3 separate regions of the Homo sapiens genome follow, and regions 1 and 2 are each linked to region 3. The links are contacts of gene promoters, found by promoter capture Hi-C in blood cells and fetal thymus (Javierre and others, 2016). All regions are on one chromosome and are shown on one strand. Each heading gives the region's core, a stretch centred on a gene start or on the middle of the fragment in contact. The rest is flanking DNA. Distances are from core to core; before and after follow the strand shown. Region 1 overlaps CSGALNACT1 (chondroitin sulfate N-acetylgalactosaminyltransferase 1). Region 2 holds the start of LOC124901900 (a long non-coding RNA gene). Region 3 holds the start of SLC18A1 (solute carrier family 18 member A1).

Region 1 (3,964 bases), core at 820-3,319, 560 kb after region 3:
GAGATTATTTAGCCTGATTGCAACATTTTACTATGGAGAAAATGTAGACTTTTTTTGGGGACAGATTGAGTGAAGTTAGGTGACTTGCCCAAGATTACCCAGGAAACTAACTGGCTTAGGATGAATTCCCCAGCCTCAAACTCCTTGTTCTGTAGGATTTTCCACTTGCCTTAAGGCCCCCTCTCTTAAGCCTACTGAATCTTACTTCTTTTTCGTACATTTTCTAGTTTGTTTAAAGAGATTGTTTAGAATTTCACTGTTGTGTTGCAGAGACAGCATGATCCGCTATAGTATAGAGTCAGCTTGGGAACTTGTTAAAACTGCAGATTCCTATACTCCAGCCCTGGATATTCTAATTCAGTAAGCAAGGTGTGAGGCTCAGGCACCTCAAATTACTGTGATAGAAGTGAGCTGTGGGCCACCTTTTGAGAAACCTGGGATGATAAAAGAGAAACACAGGCCTTGGAGTCAGATAGACCTGGAGTCAACTCCTGACTTTTTAATTTACTTATATAATAGCTCTATGCTTCAGTTTCTTCATGTATAAAATGAGGAGAATGACATTTGTTTTACGTTTTCTTACTGTTTAAACACAGCATGTATGAAGTTTGTAGCATTAAACTTGGTACCCCAAATCAGTGAATGCTACTTCCTTTCTTTTCTTCCTCCTTAATAGACTGCAGTTTAATGCCTATTGGAGGAAGAAACAGCGTGATGTGTGTCACAGACCACCCCACGTCCCTCCTGGTCACTGGGAAGACTATACTTTACAGTCCCTCTCCATCTAGGTAGGGTTGTGATACTCTTTCTGGCCAATGGAATGTGAATGGAACTGACTCGTGTCCCTTCCTGGCTGAGATGGTTCAGTCGTTGATTAGGCTTATCTTTTGTTCCTCTGCATCTACTAGCTGGGTGATAGCAGGATGACAGTGAAGCAAGAAGATGGTGAAACCGGCTGGGTGCAGTGGCTCACGCCTGTAATCCCGGCATTTTGGGAGGCCGAGGTGGGCGGGTCACGAGGTCAGGAGATTGAGACCATCCTGGCCAATATGGTGAAACCCCATTTCTACTAAAAATAGAAAAATTAGCTGGGCGTGGTGGTGTATGCCTATAATGCCAGCTACTTGGGAGGCTGAGGCAGGAGAATCGCTTGAACCCGGGAGGCGGAAGTTGCAGTGAGCTGAGATCTCGCCACTGCACTCCAGCCTGGGCAACAGAGCGAGACTCTGTCTCAAGAAAAGAAAAAAAAAAAACAAGAAGATGGTAAAAGTACAAGATGGAAGGAAGTAGCCTGATCCTCTGAGTCACCATTTGGGGGAGACTCCAAACTCCATTAACACATGAGAGTGATTCAAAAGAGAACTAAAGCTTTGTTGTTTTAAACCACTGAGATTTGGGGGCATGTGTGCAGTACTTAGTGTTAATTACTCCAATTAATATACTGTGTTGGCTATTTTTAAACACTTAAAATTATCTTTTGAATATTATCTTTGTTCTATGTTCTAAATGCTTTATGGTTTATACTAGCTACAGGAAGTACATAAAGACATGTAAGCAGTTCAGTAGGAGATAAAAGCATGATGAGATCTTCACTGGTGGAGAATACAAAATTTTTTAAATCCAGAATATTTTTGTGGGTTTTATGTATATAATCTCAAACATCAGAGGCAGGTCTCTTAGCCAGGTGAAAGTCAAGATAATAATCCCTTGACAATAAGGGCTATCAGGAACCAGAGGTAGTAGATGGTAGATAATCTCAGAGGGGCTACACTGTTGAAGAGGTGGTCCAAATAGTCTAGGGACCGATGGTGGGCATTCTACCACTAGGAGAATGGTGCTGGGCACTAGAAGAAAAGACAAAGGGTTTAGCACGTAATTTACTATGCCACTGCTCATTATAAAATAGAAGATTCTTGTGTTCCATGGAGTAGCTGCCCGGGGACCGGATCTAAAATATTTCGCCATTTGCCTCCAGTGATCTCCTAGACCTTGTAAGATGAGCCTCCTTCATAGGCACAGGCTTAAGTACATGATTCATTAATACAAGAGAGAAATCATCTTAGGTCATTAGATCATTAAGAGGGACCATTATTTCCCCACTTTCAGTGAATAGATGAAAAGCCCATTCTGGCTTAGAGATTTCCCCTCCGAAAGGATTTATTATCAATAGGTCCTAAGTAGTTTCTGATTCATGAATTCTTTAAAAGTTTATTGGTTAATATCCAAACACCTGGGGATTTTCCAGTCATCTTTCTGTTATTCTGGCTCAATTTTACTGAGGTCTGTGAACCTACTCTGTGTAATTTCAATTCTTAGAGATTTGTTAAGTACTGCTTTCTGGCCCAGCATGTAGTTAATTGTTGTAAACATTCTATTTACTCTTGAAAATAATTCACATTCTACAGTTGGTGGATATAGTATTGAAGAGTGTTAATAGTATTGTTCAATTCTTAAAAAATGTGACAGGATATTTTATGCTGTTTATGAGATTGACTTCTCAAATTCAGGTTATAGAGAGGTTAAAAGCAAAAGTATAGAAACATTTTTGTTCAAAATATCTTCACAGATTGTTTTTCCTGTTTCCTCTGTGAACCCCAGAGAAAGGTATATTAAAATATCTATGATTAAGGATTATTATTACTTCTCCCTTTAATTCATCCACTTTTTTCTTTGTCTCAAGGACATGTTATTATATGCATACAGCTTTAGAATTGCTATATCAATCTGATGACAGTGGTTCTTCCCTTAAAGTCTAGTTTGATTAAGCTTTCCCAGTTTCTGTTTGGTTAGTATTTGCATATGTTTTTTAACCCTTTACTGTCAAATATTCTATATCCTTATGTTGAAGGTATGCCTCTTTTTTATTTACTTTACTTTAAGTTCTGGGATACATGTGTGGAATGTGCAGGTTTGTTACCTACGTATACATGTGCCAGGGTGGTTTGCAGTACCTATCAACCCGTCATCTAAGCAGCATACTTCAATTTTATTTTATCTACTGTGTCAATCTTTGTCTTGTAATTGGGGTATCTATTGGCCTTTAATAGAATTACAGATTTAGCTTTCAATCTACCATCTTACTACTTAATTTCTATTTTTCTCACCCATTTCTTGTTTCTTTTTTTCTCCTTTCTTGCCTTATTTTCAGTTAAGTATTACTTTTTTATTTCCCCCCTCTTTATTAGCTTATTAATTACACATTATTTTACATTCTTGTAGTGGTTACATTAGAGAGTGTGTATTTATCTTTGACTTACTAAAGGCTAATTTAAAGTAGTACTTTTACCACTTCCTGGACAATGCAAGGGCTTTAAAATACTTTTAACTCCATTTATACCCCTTTCAAATTTATATGCTACTATCCTGAATAACTTCTAGGTAACAGTAAAATGTAGTAATAGGAATGGGAAGTGATGAATCTTGAATATTTAATCCTTGTTTTGAAATATAATTTAATTATAAGTTCATACGATTTCTTTTAAACAATGGTTACATTTAACAACTGGCTTGTAAAATTCCTGAAAATTTAATAGTTGTCTCTCATGAACCAATAAGATCTGGGTCAAGTACACTATTGAGTGAAGTCATTCCACAGAATTGTAGCCAAGTTTAATAAAGATAGTGCTTGGAATTACATCTCAACCTTCAAACATGGATATATTTAGGATCCCTAAACAATAAAACAACCACCGTGTTTAGTCAAGTTCAACAAATAGGGACAAATTTTAATGATGACCTGGAGGAAGACATTGAGAAGTTTTGTAAATGTGAAACAATGGAGTGCATTATACCTGTATTATAAAAATATTACATAACCGTGTTCCACTGTGCTTTTCTTCCAAATTCTGTTAACCAGTGGCCATTTTGTAGCTTGAAATTGGCCACAATGGACTATTTACTTTATGGAAGTATCGACTACATACCAGGACTTGAGTTATTGTTTGTTGTGTAGGCTTAAGAAAAA
Region 2 (3,742 bases), core at 1,090-3,589, 540 kb after region 3:
TCTCACTTTGTCACCCAGGCCGGAGTGCAGTGGTGAAAGCACAGCAGCTCATTGCACCCTCAATCTCCTGGGCCCAAACGATCCTCTCACCTCAGCCTCCCGAGTAGCTGGGACTACAGGTGTGTGTGTGCCACCATGCCCAGCTAGTTTTGTTTTGTTTTGTTTTGTTTTTGTAGAGAAGGCATTTCACCTTTTTGCCCAGGCTGGTCTCAAACTCCTGAGCTCAAGTGATCCACCCTCCTTGGCCTCCCAAAGTCCTGGGATTACAGGCATGAGCCACTACTCTCAGCTTCCCCATAGCCTTTTGTCATCACTTCATCATGTATTAATGTCTTTTATAGCTTAGGGTCTGTTTCTGTGCTATTTAGTTTTGTTGATCTGTTTCATATTTACCCTAGAATGATACTCTGTTATTGTAGCTTTATGTTTTATTTCTTGAAGTTGTATTCTTCCTCCTTACAATTATTTTCTAGAACTTAGTCATTGTAACCGTTTTACTTTATATGAGTCAGAGTCATTTTGCAAGATTCATTCTCTTCTGTCTTCTCTGATCTCTACCCTTCCTACAGCAAAAACAAACAAAATAAAAACTAAAGGGAAACACAGATGTCTCTAAGATTTCTCTTGGAATTGTGTAAAGCTAACAAAATGATTCAGGCAGAATGGAACTCTGTTTTAGTGCCTATTTAACAAGCCATTTTCCTTTCAAACAGAAGCCTCTTAGTTTTCAGTACTCTTCCTAACTGATGTCCAGTTAGACACAGACATCAGGCGTTGCCCAAATATCTCCCAAGGAAGAGGTGATTGGACTACATGGTTTTTACACCTATAAAGGGTTGTAAAATAAACCAAAGAGGAAGATGAGGCAGAAACCTCATGGAGCCCACAAAGCTGAAAATATTTAAGTATCTGTCCCTTCGCAGAAAAAAATTGCTGAGGACACTGTGTAGCAAAGCCCCGGCCAACAACCAGAAGGCATTTGGGGGTCACCTGGTAATTATGAGCCATCACTTTGCTTTCAGTCACTTTCTGCCTCTTCTGTACATTATCTAGGAAGGTGTGTGTTTTGTAAATGCATTTAAGGCAGTCTTATGGGAGGATATGAGTGAATGCCTACAGGTTTTGTTTCTTTCTTTGTTTTCACCCTCGTATTTCAATATGTTTCATACATTTAAAAAGGTATGTTGAGTGTGTGTTGTGAAACATTTTTTACAATGTACTTCTTTTTGAAAGATCGTGTCCACTCCTGTGGACATCTTGTTTTAATGGAGTTTCCCATGCAGTAGGACTGGTATGGTTGCAGCTGTCCAGATAAAAACATTTGAAGAGCTCCAAAATGAGAGTTCTCCCAGGTTCGCCCTGCTGCTCCAAGTCTCAGCAGCAGCCTCTTTTAGGAGGCATCTTCTGAACTAGATTAAGGCAGCTTGTAAATCTGATGTGATTTGGTTTATTATCCAACTAACTTCCATCTGTTATCACTGGAGAAAGCCCAGACTCCCCAGGACGGGTAGGGATTGTGGGCATAGAGGGATTGGGTGAGGCTGGCGTTGTGGTACCTGGAAAAGCTTGAACACTTGAAGGTCTTGTTGGGAGGAGAAGTGAAGGGGAGAGAGAGGGTTGGTTTAAAAAAAAAAAAAAAAAAAAAAAAAAAGACCAGTCACCATTATTGGTAATACAGGTAGATTCCGCATCCCTGGGAGACTTGAGAACTCCATGGAAGGAGAGACCTAATAGAAATGGATTACAAAATGATCCTGCTTTGTGTTTAAGCAGCCTGAGTCTCACAGGATCAGTCTGAACTCTAATGGGTTTCTCTATGGTTTCATTCCTCTGTCTTAGAAAATGATTGTTCAGGCACTGAATCCAGCCTTTTGGATAATCTGAAAGGAAAAAAAAAACAACCAAAACTTAAGTCTTAAGCTCATAATTCTACTTTCTGAAATACAGAGTGTGTTTGCTAAAGATTTCATAATCTTTTTTCAAGTGTAGAATTGTTTAAGAATAGTGTAAGGGCCTGCAGAGTTTGGTTAATAGAATTTATAGCATGCGAGTCAGGCAAAGACCAAATTTCATGGAAAAACTTCTGAAGCAAAGTTGTTAGAAATTCAGATTAGATTCAAGTGTGCCAGATCAACTACTGAGAAATGCTATATAGTGCTTCCCTGTTAGAAGAATCTGCTTAGAATTAATGTTGTTATTTTCTTATGTAGTGGAGAACTGATTTTGAGTTTGAGTCCAAGTACATTTTCCAGATGTAATCATTTTACCTAAGTAAATGAAAATATGGCTGTGTTTGGGACTCAAAGTTACATTGAGAATGTCTTTAGCAGCAGTTTGATGTTCAGTCAAGAATACTCTAGCAGCTGAATTCCAAGGAGTCTGGAGAATTTCAGGAATCAAGGAGAAAACAGTGAGATTTGAGAGTTGGGAGATTTACATGTGTGGGATCATGTGCTTTAAATTTGTTGCATAGTCATTTTCCATACATGTGTAATATATGTAAATGTACATATGTATAAATACATTTCATAAAGTGAGCAAAATATACAAATATTACACTGATGTGTGGCTGGCAAGTGCTAGAGGTTGAGATGGGAGATGTTAATAAGCTATTTGCTCACTACAGTATCATTGAGGGAAATAAAATACCTTATATATCTTTGTTATTTCCCCCCAGGTGCATTGAACATTGAAAGGTCTCATCAGCAGGTGGGATCGTTTACTGAGCTTGGTTGAATGGGCATGGTGGTGCGCCTGTAGTCCCAGCTACTTGGGAGGCCGAGGTGGGAGAATCACCTGAGCCCAGGGAGGTCTGGGCTGCAATGGACAGTGATTGTACCACTGCATTCCAGCCTGAGAGACGGAATGAAACTGTCTCATTAAAAAAACAAACAAAAACAAAACAAAACAAAACTGTTCTTAAAAGTGAGTGTTCCAAAGAGCATTTTAGATAATGCAAATGGATATATCGTTATAAATTCAGGAGACTCCTTAATATTTTGCCATTTGTTTATGATGACATGGAGCGGGTCAGAGCAGTTGCACGTTGTGGATGGCCTGATTAAGAAAAGCAGCTCTCTTCCCCTTGAGGTGGAAGAAGAGAGGGAAGCTTTGTCAAATGTTAAATTACCTGCCCCATCTTCCTGACTCCCAAGACTTGGTATGATACATAGTTTTCAATATTCATTACCCATTTTGAGTATCTCCTCCCTGGTCCTGCTATGGAACTATGTGCCCTGACCAAGAGTGATGGGGGTACCCTAGTTTTGTGACAGACCTGTTTCCACATTGTTTCACATGTGATACAGTAGATTTTAGCAACTCTTTGGCTTCTTCCTGGCAGTGGTTAATGGTGCAATGAAAATATTAGAAAATAAAAACCATTCTGTGGAAAATTGGGAGCAAAATTCTCATTAATCCAAAAACAACAATAGCTAGCATATTTCCCCCAGACCCCATGATGTAGACATGTTTGTCTCTCATTGTTTAAATACAACCCTTCTTAACCAAGGGCAAGCATGCTGTGCCTTTCTCCTCTCCCATTTGGACATAAAGCCTGTTATTGTTGATTGTTCTGTGGTTGGGTCACTTGAAAATGAGATTTCATTTAAGTAGAACATTTTCATTACAGGATAACAGGCCTCTTTAATTTTGTACTTTTAGAGGGGCTAGGGAAACATTCATATTTACTGTCAATTTTCCCCTTCAGAGTCCTGAAGAGGCAGGGGAGGAGTCGTTAGAG
Region 3 (4,116 bases), core at 56-2,555:
AATCTCCAGAAGGAATGCAGCCCTGCCGACACATTCATTTTAACCCGGTGTGATGTATTTTGGACTTCTGACCTCCAGAACTGCAAGATACTAAATACGTGTTGTTTTAAGCCACCAGATTGTAGTAATTTGTTACAGCAGCAAACTATAGCGATGAATACATTCTGCTGATGTCTTTGTTTCCTATCCCTATTTCTCGCTCTAGGTTTACATTTTAAAACTGTTTCCATCTAGGCCGCGCGCTGTGGCTCGCGTCTGTAATTCCAGCACTTTGAGAGGCCAAGGCAGGAGGATCACTTGAGGTCAGGACTTCGAGACCAGCCTGGCCAACATGGTGAAACCCTGTCTCTACTGAAAATACAAAAATTAGCTGAGCATGGTGGCATGCACCTGTAATCCCAGCTACTCAGGAGGTTGAGATTAGAGGATTGCTTGAACCCAGGTGGTGGAGGTTGCAGTGAGCCAAGATCATGCCACTGCACTCTAGCCTGGGTGACATAGCGAGACTCTGTCTCAAAAATAAAAAAAATAAAATTAAAAAACTATTTTCTTTTTTTTTAGCGTTAAATCGAAAGTTCCCTAGTTAATTCCCACAATTAGGAGGGGCCCACCAGTTCCACAAATAGGAAATCTCTGCACTGCTCTTGCTCGTAAAGTGTATTTGCTTTTTCATAAATTGCTTATGTTCTTTGAGCCACCAATGGTTTAATGTCAGAATAATATAGATCATTAGAGCCTCTCAAGATCCCACAAGGAACTGCACTTTCTCCTGTAGTTAACCATCCAGTCATCCATGCAAGAAATATTTATTGGATGCTACCATGTATCAGGCACTGAGCCAGTATTGAGATGTGAAGACACAGTGCATAATCTAAGCCTTTACAGAGGCCACAGATGTTGGGTTTTTATGGCTTGAGAACAACATACATTGTTTCTTTCCAGGAAGCTAATTGGGGTACATGGAGCCACTTTGACTAAGTAGCAAGGAACAGGAACTGCACACTGGTTCCATCTTGGCTTCCAATTTGTATTCAGACCCAGGCAAGAGTTAAAGAGTTCGATGATAGATAAGCACAGATGCAAAACAGTACAGTCCAGTGCCTCTTTGCTTAGGCTAATATCTGCCCTCTCTTTATCCTCTCCAGCCCTGCCTTCCTGCCTTTGACGCAGGGAGCTAAGGGTCTGAATGAACCCTGTTGGAGGTTGCAATTAAATCTTTGTGGACAAAGGCACACACACACACACATACACAGAATCCTCAGATAACAGGAGGCAATAAATCCAACAGCACATCCACGTTCAGAGAACAGTGTCCCTGCTGTCTTGCTAACAGCTGCCAATACCTCACTGAGTGCCTCACACCAACATGGGCTCCAAGGTAAGATTTTTCTCTCTCCGGACAAATTTAATCTTTCCTTGTGATTTGTGTCTCTGTCAGAGGATTTTGACTGTTAAGTAAAGTTTACTATTGATTTGTTGGCAAATTCCTGGTTTTGTTTGTTTTTGTTTTGGGATTTGGGTGTGTGTGTTTCTCTCTCTTTGTAGTACTTACTTCACTCACTATGTTTTTTAATTTTCCATGGCTTGTCTTTTATTCTTATCCATACATATCCTAAGTCAATTTGTATTCAGAAATACCTCCTTTATATAGAGAAATGAAGGATCTTAAGTAATTGCATGCATTTACTGGTTAAAACTTAACTGAGAATTTGGTTCACTTAGGACCTTGGTCACGTTAATATGTAGTAGTGAGAGGGTTCTTCCAGCCCTGGGCTTAGAACAGAGTACCTCAGTGTTTGGGGTACTCCCAACACCTGAGGCTGACTATTGAATTTCAGTGATAATCATTTAAAATTATTTACTTCTTTAATTACAAAAGTAGCTCATTATTGAATATTTAGAAATACACAGAAGATAACTGAAGTCATTGATTATAAATAACTGGCATTTGAGTATCTCTCTACTCTCTCAAAAATGTGCCCATATATTTATATTTAGACAATTGAGATAAAGTTGAAAACACAGTTTAATTTCCCTTTTTTACTTAACGTTATAGTAATAGTATTTTCTGTATCATTAAAATTATTTGAAAATATAATTTTTAAGAGCCGCTTAATAATCCACCATTAACATGTTTGACTTTTTTCACTAAGAAAAATAATTCTGCAATTGATCATTTTGAGTATAAGTCTTTGGCTGCATCTCTGACCTTTTTTCTTTTGTAGGATGGGTTCCTTGTAGTAGAGTTACTAAGTCAAAGAGTATACAATTTTTAGGGCCTGATAGATTTCATGATGGTAATCTATTTTAAAATTTAAATGAGTGATATTGTTGATACCACAACAGAAGCCACGTCAAAGAAAATGAAATTCTCCCCAGAAACTCTTATTACTTGAAGTTTGACAAGGTACTGTGACTTAATGCTGACTAATGATATGAAATCCTGAATAGAGAACTAATCATGAAAGTCAATATTTTATTTTCACAGATGAAGGCATCTTTCTGATCAGGGGTTTGTAGCTCAAACAAAAGAATGAGCGTGCTTCTAGAACCACAGAGCAAGGGAACATGGTAGAGGATAAGCTGGCAAGTTGAAAAGCGTGGGATTTCATCCCAGTTTGACACTAACTGTGCAACCCCAAACAAATCTCCTAACCTTCAGAGGCTCGGATTTCTTGTCTATGAGATGAAGGTTGGTCTACATCAGTGTTTCTCAGTGGGCAGCCCAAGTGACACTGTGCCACATGAAATATTTTGGGGTAGCACCTAGAACAAAGGTCATACTTTTTTTGCATGCCACATAAAATAACTTTTTGAAACATGATATCAATATCTATGTTGGTTTTAAAAATTTTTTGAGAGTTAGGGGTCTTGCTATGTAGTCCAGGCTGGACTCAAACTCCTGGGCTCAAGATATCCTCCCACCTCAGCCTCCCAAGTAACTGAGACTCCAGGCACATCCCACCATACCTGGCAGTATCTCAATATTTTAAAAGAGTGGATCTAGAGGAAAAAGATGAAGTAAATGATAGTACAGGTAGTCCTTAGATATGACATAAACCATCAAGGTGATAGGCAAATAAATGTCGGATGTTTGAAAAACACAGGGTTAAGTGATCTGTAGAGCATCTATTTTTATCTGGATTTATACCTAGCCATTAAATTCAAGGGAAATTAATGGCTAGATATAAATCCAGACATAAATAGCTAGTAAGCGATGCTTACCAGGAAGGCATTCTGGGAACCAGGTAGAGTTATTGAGATTTATAAGAAGTGAACAGTGATACAGACATGGAGATGTTTCCAAATATCATCCTACTACTTGCAACCCTTTGCACTTTTCGTTTTAATAGTGAGTTTCCTTCGTCTGGGCAGACTCCCTCCCCTCTTCCATAAAGGCTGCAGGAGACCTGTAGCTGTCACAGGACCTTCCCTAAGAGCCCGCAGGGGAAGACTGCCCCAGTCCGGCCATCACCATGCTCCGGACCATTCTGGATGCTCCCCAGCGGTTGCTGAAGGAGGGGAGAGCGTCCCGGCAGCTGGTGCTGGTGGTGGTATTCGTCGCTTTGCTCCTGGACAACATGCTGTTTACTGTGGTGGGTACGTTTGTGGGTCTTTGTGCTGAGGGTTAATTTGCTGTGGGCCCCAGCAGGCAGTGTACACCCTGCTTGAGTTCAACAGTGAATCCATCTGAGAATTTTCCTTTTTATGCTCAAAAACACACAGAGGTTGTTGGGGACTGGAAAAAAGCCCTGCAGAAAATGGAGTCTGACACTTGTCAAACACAGCTAAAAGACTCAGGAGGTTCAAAGAGCAGGAGGTCCAGAGAGGGTCTGACTGGAGAAGAGGATGGCCCGGAGCCAGAACTGGCTGTGCTTTTCTTTCTCCCCACACTGTCTTCTCAAGGTGCTAATGACTCCAAGTGCCTCTGAGGCAGCGAGATCTTCTCACAGGGGTGCCTTTCTGGACTCTGCTCTATAAAAACAGCATATTTTATTTGGATATCTGATTTAGTATCAAGACCTTGCCTTCCTTGTGGTTCTTTCCCTCAGAATCCTGCTTTTTTTAGTTGATACTCTCCTAATCATTACATTAAGTTACACCCTTGTATAAATG

Evidence for each region. Contacts are between HindIII fragments. The CHiCAGO score rates a contact against its expected background, and 5 or more counts as called.
Region 1: a contact is called between a fragment that was not itself captured here and the fragment with the promoter of SLC18A1 in region 3, in 1 of 17 cell types (neutrophils). The highest score is 5.6, in neutrophils.
Region 2: a contact is called between a fragment that was not itself captured here and the fragment with the promoter of SLC18A1 in region 3, in 1 of 17 cell types (neutrophils). The highest score is 5.4, in neutrophils.

What each region holds. Positions count from the first base shown.
Region 1 is chr8:19,621,966-19,625,929 of GRCh38, reverse strand. The region is part of intron 1 of CSGALNACT1 (chondroitin sulfate N-acetylgalactosaminyltransferase 1); the gene reads left to right. Among named protein-coding and RNA genes, the nearest start is that of CSGALNACT1-AS1, 55 kb to the left of the region's middle. The HindIII fragment of the contact is 1,398 bases long and covers 1,371-2,768 here.
Region 2 is chr8:19,639,038-19,642,779 of GRCh38, reverse strand. All of the region lies in intron 1 of CSGALNACT1 (chondroitin sulfate N-acetylgalactosaminyltransferase 1), which reads left to right. LOC124901900 (a long non-coding RNA gene) reads right to left here and starts at 1,629. Exons shown (of 3, transcript XR_007060842.1): 1 at 1,557-1,629. RefSeq lists an enhancer at 2,454-2,998. The HindIII fragment of the contact is 1,544 bases long and covers 1,568-3,111 here.
Region 3 is chr8:20,180,325-20,184,440 of GRCh38, reverse strand. SLC18A1 (solute carrier family 18 member A1) reads left to right here and starts at 1,305. Exons shown (of 16, transcript NM_003053.4): 1 at 1,305-1,378; 2 at 3,354-3,600. The coding sequence starts at 3,477. The HindIII fragment of the contact is 10,670 bases long and covers 1-4,116 here.